4 separate regions of the Homo sapiens genome follow, and regions 1, 2 and 3 are each linked to region 4. The links are contacts of gene promoters, found by promoter capture Hi-C in blood cells and fetal thymus (Javierre and others, 2016). All regions are on one chromosome and are shown on one strand. Each heading gives the region's core, a stretch centred on a gene start or on the middle of the fragment in contact. The rest is flanking DNA. Distances are from core to core; before and after follow the strand shown. Region 1 overlaps WASL (WASP like actin nucleation promoting factor). Region 2 holds the start of LMOD2 (leiomodin 2). Region 3 has its middle 12 kb from the start of WASL-DT. Region 4 holds the start of POT1 (protection of telomeres 1).

The links. The method cuts DNA at HindIII sites, captures the fragments that hold promoters and counts their contacts. A CHiCAGO score of 5 or more calls a contact.
Region 1: a contact is called between a fragment that was not itself captured here and the fragment with the promoter of POT1 in region 4, in 1 of 17 cell types (total CD8 T cells). The highest score is 6.0, in total CD8 T cells.
Region 2: a contact is called between the fragment with the promoter of LMOD2 here and the fragment with the promoter of POT1 in region 4, in 1 of 17 cell types (total B cells). The highest score is 6.4, in total B cells.
Region 3: a fragment that was not itself captured here is called in contact with the fragment with the promoter of POT1 in region 4 in 1 of 17 cell types (non-activated CD4 T cells); the score reaches 6.1 in non-activated CD4 T cells.

Annotation. Positions count from the first base shown.
Region 1 is chr7:123,719,789-123,722,488 of GRCh38, forward strand. All of the region lies in intron 1 of WASL (WASP like actin nucleation promoting factor), which reads right to left. Among named protein-coding and RNA genes, the nearest start is that of WASL, 28 kb to the right of the region's middle. The HindIII fragment of the contact is 5,627 bases long and covers 1-2,700 here.
Region 2 is chr7:123,654,599-123,657,298 of GRCh38, forward strand. It overlaps LMOD2 (leiomodin 2), which reads left to right and starts at 1,268. Exons shown (of 3, transcript NM_207163.3): 1 at 1,268-1,638. The coding sequence starts at 1,366. The HindIII fragment of the contact is 9,966 bases long and covers 1-2,700 here.
Region 3 is chr7:123,759,645-123,762,344 of GRCh38, forward strand. No RefSeq gene overlaps it. Among named protein-coding and RNA genes, the nearest start is that of WASL-DT, 12 kb to the left of the region's middle. The HindIII fragment of the contact is 5,775 bases long and covers 1-2,700 here.
Region 4 is chr7:124,928,479-124,931,178 of GRCh38, forward strand. POT1 (protection of telomeres 1) reads right to left here and starts at 1,347. Exons shown (of 19, transcript NM_015450.3): 1 at 1,316-1,347; 2 at 337-521. It overlaps POT1-AS1 (POT1 antisense RNA 1), which reads left to right and starts at 1,395. Exons shown (of 8, transcript NR_125719.1): 1 at 1,395-1,538. RefSeq lists enhancers at 1,283-1,582, 1,337-1,631. The HindIII fragment of the contact is 3,988 bases long and covers 1-1,635 here.

The DNA.
Region 1 (2,700 bases), core at 39-2,538, 1.2 Mb before region 4:
TCTGCCTTTCTGTAGTTACAACTGTCTTGGTAAATTCTTTTTACCACCCAAGCCACCAGCCAGATAGTCACTAGTCACTGCTCACCTGTGACAGGAACCTCCCAACCCACCTTTCCCTCAGTCTGTGACAAAGGCCTATCCATTGAGTTCCCATAGTGCCTAGGAACCTTCATTATACCAGTTACTGTATTATAATCTGTTCACTTAGGTCTTCTCAGCAGACTGTCAACTCCTTGAAGATAGGGCCCTGTCTTATTTCTATACTCACCTAGCACAAAATATATGGTTACCCCCAAACCTGTTTCCCAACAACCAGTTTATCATATAAGAATTAAAATCAGTTCAGTAACGTGTTTGATCTATTTAACTAAACCAGGGTAAAGGGGTAACACACTTTACAATGACTTCTATCAAAACCATTATTTAAATCATTAATTCAAATCTTCAGAATCTTAAAATTATCCAAAATTACTCGAATATTTTGGTCATCAAGAAAAATACACACTCATTAAATAAAGCACAGTTCAGCTATACAAATAGGATACCATACAGCTGCAAAAAAAAAAAAAAAAAGTTGTTATTCAAGTAATGATAAGATGAACAAGATACACTGTTATCTGAATAAAAGGCAAGATGTAAAAGTAAGGGTAGCATATACTAACGTCTGTACACAATACCACAAACAAGAATAAATAACTTACATTTGCCTATGTATGCACAGAACCTTCTGAAGAACAGACAAAACTAGTAACAGTTGTTTAAAGGTTCTGTGTGTGGACAGGTATTTTGTTGGAGAAGAAATGACTAGGCAAATGAAGGACTGGATAAATGAGAAACATCACTTTCTTTTCACACTGTGGGATTTTTTTTTTTTTTTTTTGAGATGGAGTCTCATTCTCTCGCCCAGGCTGGAGTACAGTGGCACAATCTTGGCTCACTGCAAGCTCCGCCTCCTGGGTTCATGCCATTCTCCTGCCTCAGCCTCCTGGTAGCTGGGACTACAGGTGCCTGCACACTGTGGGATTTTTAAACCATGTGGATGTATTGGCTTTCCAAAAATTAAAAATTGATTTAAAATATATACACGTTAAAAAAAAAAGACCTACTCAAATCACATTATGGTGCAAGTCTGAAACAAACAAACAAAAATAACCTTTCTGACCTAGAAACAGTAACCTAGCAAGAATTTTGAGTAGCTCTTTAGCTTCCCCCTAAAAAATTAAAAATAAACATTGCTGAATAACATACTACAGTGCCTAGGGGCTTAAACTAATAAAAAGCAAACTCTGGCTACTATAGGGAGATAGCCAGTCTATAATGAACAACAAAGTCTTTGATTTCTTTTACAAACTTACTCTTGCAGTCTTTCAAACTCTTAAACATGATTAATAAAAATAAGCAAATTAAAATTTTTTGTCTTCCATATTTGTTATTCTATATTCAGCAATTCAATGATCTAATAAGCATTTAAGGACAGTCACAGGGATGTACATATACTTTATATAAATAAGCACTTTTAGTTTGCTTGACTGACATGTACAATCAAGGTGGGCAAAAAACGTGCAAAAGGTAGGTTACTTTGAGAGCCATTTTATTTAAATATGAGCTTTTGAAGGCATAAGGTAAAGGTAAGGGCTTTGTAACAAGTAACAGTTTAAATTCAACATACAACCTAAGGACTTAAAGTACAACATTTGAGACTCTCATGTACATTACACACAAGAGCTAGATAGCATCCACCCCAAAAAACAAACAAACGAACAACAACAACAAAAAACCCCACCAAAGAATCCAAGAACCTTTCTCAAGTTTTGTTTTTAAGATTTACATTTTATTCACAATTTAAGAGACTTAAGGCTGGGTGTGGTGGCTCACATCTGTAATTTCAGCACTTTGGGAGGCCAAGGAGAGTGGATCACCTGAGGACCAGCATGTCCAACATGATGAAACCCTGTCGCTACTAAAAACACAAAATTTGGTCAGGCGTGGTGGCGGGCGCCTGTAGTCCCAGTCCCAGCTACTCAGGAGGCTGAGGCAAGAGAAATGCTTGAACCCAGGAGACAGAGGCTGCAGTGAGCTGCGATTGAGATTTAATAAATGTTCTCTATTTTTTAGAATGTATAAATTAATTGGGAATGATTTCACTTTGAGTCCACACAGATCTTTTACACTGTTACTGTCCTCTCTAGGTAAGCTCCAAAGCTGGGTGGCTTTGGGGGTGGGGGCAGGGGCAGGCGGGAGGGTACTGTTAGTTTCTGGACTCATCTTGCTTTTGCTCTCTGGAGCTGTACTGTTTAATAAGGTCACCACTAGCCACAATGGCTATTCAAATATGTTAAAAATGTTGTCTCTCAAAGTCACACCTGCTACATTTCAAGTGCGCAATAATCACAGATGTCTACCATATTGGACAGCATCATAAAAAGTTCTATTGGACAATAATGCTCTGGAAAGTCCTAGGGATAATCTCATGCAAATAATTTATTAGAACAAGATATGGAATTTATAAGGTCAACAGAAGGTCAAAGTTGGGATAACTACACAAAGGAATGTTCCTAATAAAAATAATTTAAAGAATCGTATTTATTCACAAAATGTCTGGCTAACCTAGAGACTAAATCTGAACAGGGTATTAATTCAATTAACAATTATTTATTATCTTAATCATCTTAGATGATTAAAAGAAGGTCTCTGTCTCCA
Region 2 (2,700 bases), core at 18-2,517, 1.3 Mb before region 4:
GATAAAAGGTAGAAACCCAAAGCTAGAAACAACCCAAATATTCACCAGCTGCTGAAGGTATAATCAGAATATCATGTACTATACATGTATTGATAAATGTATTTTTGTATGCATTAATATTTTTAATAGATTTTACATATCTATAAAATGGTGTTATATTTATGGAGTCCTATAAACTATGGATTTATTTTAACATATACACAACAATATGCTCATATATAATTTCTTTTTTTAATTTGTGCAAATGTATGGAGTACATAAGAAAATTTGTTGTATATATATAATATGTAGTGATTAAGTCATATATATAATTTCAAATTAGCATCTCTTCCATTTTCAGGCCAGATACAAATCTGGGCTCAGATTCTAGCTCTCTCACTTCTTAGCTCTGTGCTCCCATGCTAGTAACTTAACCTCTCTGAGTGTGTACTAGTTAAGTACAGGCACTAATGTACACCTTACAGGACTGTAGAATTAAAGGAGATAATGCTTAACACTGGAATGGCATAATGTCAGTCCTTAATAAATCATATCCAGTATTATTATTTGTATTTTTCGAGTTTCATTTGCAAGTCTAGATTTTTACTAGTAATCATGGTGAGTAGGAAGAAGCATTTCGTTCAGTGGAGAAAGACACCTCTCTGTACTTTCAGCTCTCCAACTTCTGACGTTTCACTTAATCTCTGAGAGCCTCAGTTGCCAACATCTATAAATGAGAATCATGTTATTCATCTCACAGTATTTATGATTAGAAAAACTTATTGAAGTGCTTTGTAAACTGCAAAGTAGGATAAAATTATGAAATACTATATTATTATGACCTTTTGTCCCCATCAATACCACCTACAGTATGTTTATAGAAGAACCAAAATAACTACCCATGGAGTATTGTGGAGACATTTCTCAACCCTAAGATTATAATGAAAGAATCTTTTCATGGCCATGGAGGTGGTGGCAAGTCATTTTCAAAATAAATTTTATTTCCCTGTTGTTTGAATACAAAGTGAGAAGAACTGTGTTACTCCTTATCTGAAACACTCTGCCTGTCCTCATGAGCTATCAGACTCAGCTAAATATGGCCCTGGCCAGTATGTTAATAATCCCCACTGGTTCTGAGACCTCCATCCACCACCGATGTGACATTCTTTGTGTTCAAATGTCTAGCTGACGTCTGATGCTTAAAACAGCCCATGCCTTCACCCCTCTCTGCATTGTCACAGCCCTGTATCACCACTCTTAAAAGGCTCCCACAGCCACTCCTAGCACCAGTTGTTGACCAGCCTGCCACTTGCCTCCCTGCCTGCTTCTGGCCGCCTTGAATGCCTGGTCCTTCAAGCTCCTTCTGGGTCTGACAAAGCAGGGACCATGTCTACCTTTGGCTACCGAAGAGGACTCAGTAAATACGAATCCATCGACGAGGATGAACTCCTCGCCTCCCTGTCAGCCGAGGAGCTGAAGGAGCTAGAGAGAGAGTTGGAAGACATTGAACCTGACCGCAACCTTCCCGTGGGGCTAAGGCAAAAGAGCCTGACAGAGAAAACCCCCACAGGGACATTCAGCAGAGAGGCACTGATGGCCTATTGGGAAAAGGAGTCCCAAAAACTCTTGGAGAAGGAGAGGCTGGGGGAATGTGGAAAGGTAGGCTCTCGGGACTTTTCCTTGGCTAACCCCACCTCCCCATCACCCCATCCCAAACCCAGACACTTGTTTTCCCTAACTTCTCAATCCTCATCACTTGAATTTTCCTATAACCCATTTATACTTGCTACTAAATCATTTTTCAGGCTGAAATAATCATGTAAATGCTATGGCCACCCAATGGATCATAATATGTAAAATTCTTAATTGGGGCTCTTTGATTGATTACAAATAGAAAGCTCAAGAGGAAAATAATTCACAATCAGTGTATGGGATTCAATATTTTGCCAAACATAAGTGTTGTTTGAGCTATATGTTGGTAATGTGGCATAATATTTGTTCCCAAGATACATGCATACGTATAAATGTATACTTTTTTTTCAGTTAAGTACATTTATTTTCTCCTATAAAGACAAAAGTGGGAACGCTGGTTGCTTTGACTGTGATAGTAGCTATGGTGAAATAGTTCTTTTCCAATACCAAGAAGTGTGGGGTGGTGGGAAGTACATGACACTGAGAGTCACAGGGCCTTGTTATGAGTCCCTGCTCTGTTCCCACATCTTTAGACCTTGAACAATCACTTTTACAGGGTTCTCTTTCCCTCTGGACATTGAGGGAGTTAGAGACAGTGTTTCTTTTGCGAATCAAGAACCCCTTTGAGATTTTGATAAGTTATGAACCTTCTTAAGAAAATAGCCCTGGGCTTGTGCAAAATACACCAACTTTTGCATAGAATTTCAAAATGATAACACATCCTGAAACCCATCTGAGGACTCAGGGGCAGCACAGCTGTATAGATGATCTCTTCGATTTCTGTCTCCTTTACGATGGTGATCCTGAGGTTAGGAAATGTGCTTATATCAGAGCTCAGGCCTATAAAGCTCTTGTGTACTGCCCAGTAAACAGTTATTTTGAATTTGCCAAATGAGTCAATACCAGAAGGAAGTCCAAAAGACTATTATTCTCTGGGAAAACAGTAATGACAATAAAGTGTCCATATAACAAAAAAAAAATTCTTCCGGAATTATGGAAGAACATAGGTCAGGAGAAACAGTTTAAAAC
Region 3 (2,700 bases), core at 184-2,683, 1.2 Mb before region 4:
GGTTTTCCTCATAAATTTTGTCAAATGCTTTTTCTGTTTATGTTAAATAAGCTCATATTTTGTCTCCTGTTTAGTCTGTTGATACAGTGAATTATACTGATTTTTATTTTTATTTTTATTATACTTTAAGTTCTGGGATACACGTGCAGAAGTGCAGGTTTATTACATAGGTATACATGTCCCATGGTGGTTTGCTGCACCCATCAACCCGTCGTCTACATTAGGTATTTCTCCTAATGCTATCCCTCCCCTTGCCCCCCACCACCCCCCACAGGTCCCAGTGTGTGATGTTCCCCTCCCTGTGCCCATATGTTCTCATTGTTCAACTCCCACTTATGAGTGAGAACATGCGGTGTTTGATTTTCTGTTCCTGGAATTACACTGATTTTAAAATGTTGAAACAGGCTTGCATTCCTGGGATAAACCCCAGTTGATCATGATATATGATCCCTTTTTAAATATTGCTTAATTCCAATTGTTGATAATCTGTTAAGGGTTTTTGTGCCTATAAAATATTGGTCTAAGAGGATAGATCTCCTCTTCCAGCTCTAACAGCTGAAGGACTTTTCTGATGCTGATTTCCCAGATTTCCAAGTAATTCCAATTCCTCCACGCCCTGACTCTAAACACTGTCATTTCATGTTGAGCTCCCTTATAGTGACCACTGTTAAGATCATCATCTCCCCCAATGCAAAGATCTGCCTTCTGAACCAGAACTTTTCCACAGTGCCTGAAGCTGCACATGCCACCAGTTCCTGTTCATTCCCAGTGGTGAACTGATTTTCAGTTATTTCCCAGATGGTCATAGTGTTCTGTATCCTAATGTAGTTAGCACTCTCTCAACATGGAATTCAGTAATTCTTTGATAGCCTAGGAATTCTTCAAGTGGCAATAAAGGTAACTCAAGCACCCATTAGGTCTGGCATCTCTGTACTCACTGAGCGAAGCACTTTGCTCTTCCTAAGGCCTTCTGCTTTGCTGCGCTCTACATTTCCTTGTTTCCTTTTGCTCCATCAGTGATTCTGAGTCCCTTCTTGCCTATATACATCGTTTTGTTTTCTCCATTGGCTCTTTCTGGTCAATGTATAAATATGTTCAGATATCTCTCAAATTAAAAACTATTTTCATTAAAATAATCAATTTAAATAAGTAAATACCCTGACTGTTACTAATTCGTATCTTTCCTCTTCACAGACAACCTTCTAAAAACAGTAATCTATACTCATTGTCTACTTTCCTTTCTCTTTCACTCATCAAGCAATGTGAGCTTGTTTCCATCCCCAATATTTTAATATTGGGGGTGACATCTAATATTTAATGTGACATTTTTGTCACATAACTAAATGTGAATTGGACATTTTCTTCTTTGCAAGCTCTCTACCATCAATCAATATGGTGTCTATCGGTCCTATGTAGGGTGTCTCTATCCTGCTTATATGATCACTCATTTGCCATTCTCTATGGCTCTGCATCTTAAATATTAATTCCACCCAGAGTTCTATCATTTTGCCTCATTTATTTGGCCTTGAATAGAATAGGGGTCCCCAGAAGATTTAGTGAATAGGTGAATTTTAATTTTTTTTTTTTTTTTTTTTGAGACAGAGTCTCGCTCTGTTGCCCAGGCTTGAGTGCAGTGGCGCGATTTTGGCTCACTGCAAGCTCCGCCTCCCGGGTTTACCCCATTCTCCTGCCTCAGCCTCCCCAGTAGCTGTGGCTACAGGCACCCACCACCACACCCGGCTACTTTTTTGTATTTTTACTGGAGATGGGGTTTCACCATGTTAGCCAGGATGGTCTCAGTCTCCTGACCTCGTGATCTGCCTGCCTCGGCCTCCTGAAGTACTGGGATTACAGGTGTGAGCCACCGCACCCAGACAGGTGAATTTTAACTTTCTAATCCGATTCATCAGAATAATATAAGGTAGCATTACCGAGCACTTACGACATGCCTGACACCATGTTGAATGCTTTAGATACGTTTCCATTTAATTCTTTAGTGGTTTATAAGAGATATTATTAACAGCACGTTTCAGATTTAGAAAACTTGCACAAGGTCAATGAGAGAGGCAACTCCAATCTGAGTCTTTTGACAGCAGAGCCTGTGTTCTTAACAGTGACACTATTAATGTCGACAGCTTTTATTGCCCTCTTTGTGATTCCCAGGTATTTCTCCAAACCTCTCTTCTGAGGTCTGGACTATAGCTACAACTGATAAGTTCCTCAAAGTCATTGTGTACACATCTGTACTCACGATCTTTGTTTAAAATCTTTTCTGTGTTTCCTATCTCAGTGTTTAATACCACCACACTCTCTTTTCCAATTAGAAACCTCAAAAACCATCTTGTCCTCCTATTGCTCACATTGTTCCTGCCCTCTAATCTTCAGTCACCACCTCCCGTCAATTTTATCTCCTATTATCCCTCCACCACCACTTCCTTTTCATCTCTTCTGCCTGTGCCCTAAATCAAGCATCCTTCACTACCTCACTTCTCTCGCCAGTTTTATTCTCACAATTCACCCAGCACATCATTGCCAGCATGCAAGTGAGAATCTGATCATGTTACTTTCTCTCCTAAAAATTCTTCAGAGGCTCCTCATTGTTTGCAATATTGTGTCTGGAATTGGTGGGTTCTTGGTCTCACTGACTTCAAGAATGAAGCCACGGACCCTCGCGGTGAGTGTTACAGTTCTTAAAGGCAG
Region 4 (2,700 bases), core at 97-2,596:
TTCACACATCACAATGCTAATATCACACCTATTAATTTTAATTGGAGATCAGGTGATTGATCTGTCAGACCCCACAGAAATGTGATTATCTTTAGTTCCGGGACTATATTTATTCATCTTTGTACCTCAGAAACTTACTCCAATGTTTCACACACGAATTTGATAATTGTTCGCTAAATAAGTACTGAATAAGAATAACTTATTGAAATATTCAATCTCAAATGTTATGACAAAGATAAAAACCATACCTAAACCAGTTCTCATAAATAAACTCAACACTTAAAAACTGCATTCCTTTTAGTAGGAAAAAGCATTCTGAGTTATAGAAATTCTTACCTGAATATATTTCTTGCTATAATTGTAACCTGGCTGTAGGGATCCGAAATCTACTTTATGTAATTTACTCAGCGGCTGAACTTCAGGCACCCCATTGACTTCCTTTATTAATTCAAGTGGCATATCAGTTCTGCTTCACACTGATGTCCAAAGCAAATTCAACTAGGGAATCTGACAACTTGCTGCTGAAAATACAAAACCAGTGTTTTACCCAAAATGAAGTCAATAATTTGCTTTAAGTCTCTTTGACTTAGTTATGCTTTTCCTTATTATAGTTAACACGGTTCGGGGTTGGGGGGTGACAGGAGGATGGATTATTTTACAATTTTATTGCAAAGATCAATACAAAACATTCTTCCAAGGAACTGAAACTTAACCATTTTCTACTTAGCTGCGTAAAGTACCTCCAAAAAGCCAGTTTTAAGATCTGTAACGTCACTAACAAACGCTTTTAACATTGTGCTTTAAAATGTAAAATTTATTGGGGAAGAGGGAGGCTGAAAAATCGTGTTTTTTTTTAACCCCCACGGGAGCTGTAATATTGTATAGACAAACTGTGCACCAAAAGCATCGTACTCCAACATGTTTCTGTGGCCCCCTCCCTTCACCCGCTAAATAAATGAAGAAACAAAAATTACTGAACTGAGATTAACTTCTGCATCGTAGGCTCAACCTTATTTCACAGACCTCTTGACGGGGACACTCACTAGTGTCGATATCTAATTTTAATGTTTGCGCACCAACCTTCCCCCAAGCCACCTGAGCTCTGTGAGGGCGGGGACTTGGACTTAACTCCTGTCTGCTTCTCCCAAAACACCAAGAAAGATGCTGAACACAGCAGGCTCGAGATAAACACTCGTAAGAAAGCGTTTCTCTGCGATAATTACATCAAATTTTGATCTAAACTAATTCAATCCCGGGCCCGTTACGTCTGGCACCCACTCAAATGAACACACCAAACCTTACAAATTTCACTCACCCGTACTCTAGAAAGAACCCTAGGAAGAGTTTAGGCGGGCGCGCAGGTGACGTCACACGCACGCTGACGGTTCAGCTCCACGCATGCGTGCAGGATCCCTGGGCATAGTCGCTTGTTCTCCGCCCGCGGTGGACCAGCTGCGTAACGGTTCACACACTGATGGCGCCTGGAGGTTTGGCGAAATACTGACAGGATGCGACGTCAACGGGAGCGCAGGGCCAAGGTACAGGCCCCGCCCAGTCCGGTCACATCCCCCGGAATTCTCGCAGCTCCCCTTAGCTCCGCCCCCAGTGACTTTCCAGCTTTCGTGGCGGGAGGCAAGCTTAGGGGAAGCGGGCGGGTCCGCTGGGCGGGATTTGAGCTTCCCTTTGGTAGATTCGAAGCTCCTGTAGGCAGAGCCTTTCTTTTAATGTCCAGTTCTCTTCCTCCAAGAAATAGGCACCTACTGCAGTCTTTACAAGGAAGCATTTACAAGGATAACAATGTTATTTGGGAGTTTTTATAGTAATTTCGGGCATTGGCATAATGCCACCATTGAGTCTTGCTATTTACAGACAGATTTGATTAACCTTGTCATTGTTTTATAGGGCCATGATTTTGTGGTATAATTAATATTTATTATAATTTATTTTATAGGTTTATTATAGTTTATTTAATATTTATTATAACTTATAATTGATAAATATTATAATTTATCATTTATAATGATAAATTGTTAAACATGAATTCTCTGCTAATTCCAGATATATGCCTTCAATCATTTAAGTGAAATCATCCTAGTGTGAAACTAAATGTAATAAAGAATTACATGAATATTTCCAAGGCTAATTTGAACTAAAATATCTTCTTTATATACATATTTGCAGGAGGATATAGCTAACTTTTTTTTTTTTTTTGAGACGGAATCTCGCTCTGTCACCAGGCTGGAGTGCAATGGCGCAATCTCGGCTAACTGCAACCCCCACCTCCCGGGTTCAAGCAATTCTTCTGCCTCAGCCTCCCTAGTAGCTGGGATTACAGGCGCAGGCCACCATGCCTGGCTAATTTTTGTATTTGTTTAGTAGAGACGGGGTTTCCCATTTTGGCCAGGCTGGTCTCGAACTCCTGACCTTGTGATCCGCCCACCTTGGCCTCCCAAAGTGCTGGGATTACAGACATGAGCCACTGTGCCCAGCCAGCTATGTTTGAAGTGCCTTTTTAATCAACAGGAAGCATTCAGTATTAGCCCATCTCCTGTTTCCCCTCCCCATCCCTGTAGTTATATCCCACGCAGAAGCCGGGGTGACAAGTGCATGAACTCAGGAGCTGTCCATTTGAGGAAAACTATAGGGAAGGTTTAGATGCTATCCTCCTTCCATCTCTGGCTGCATCCGGCTGAGAAATAC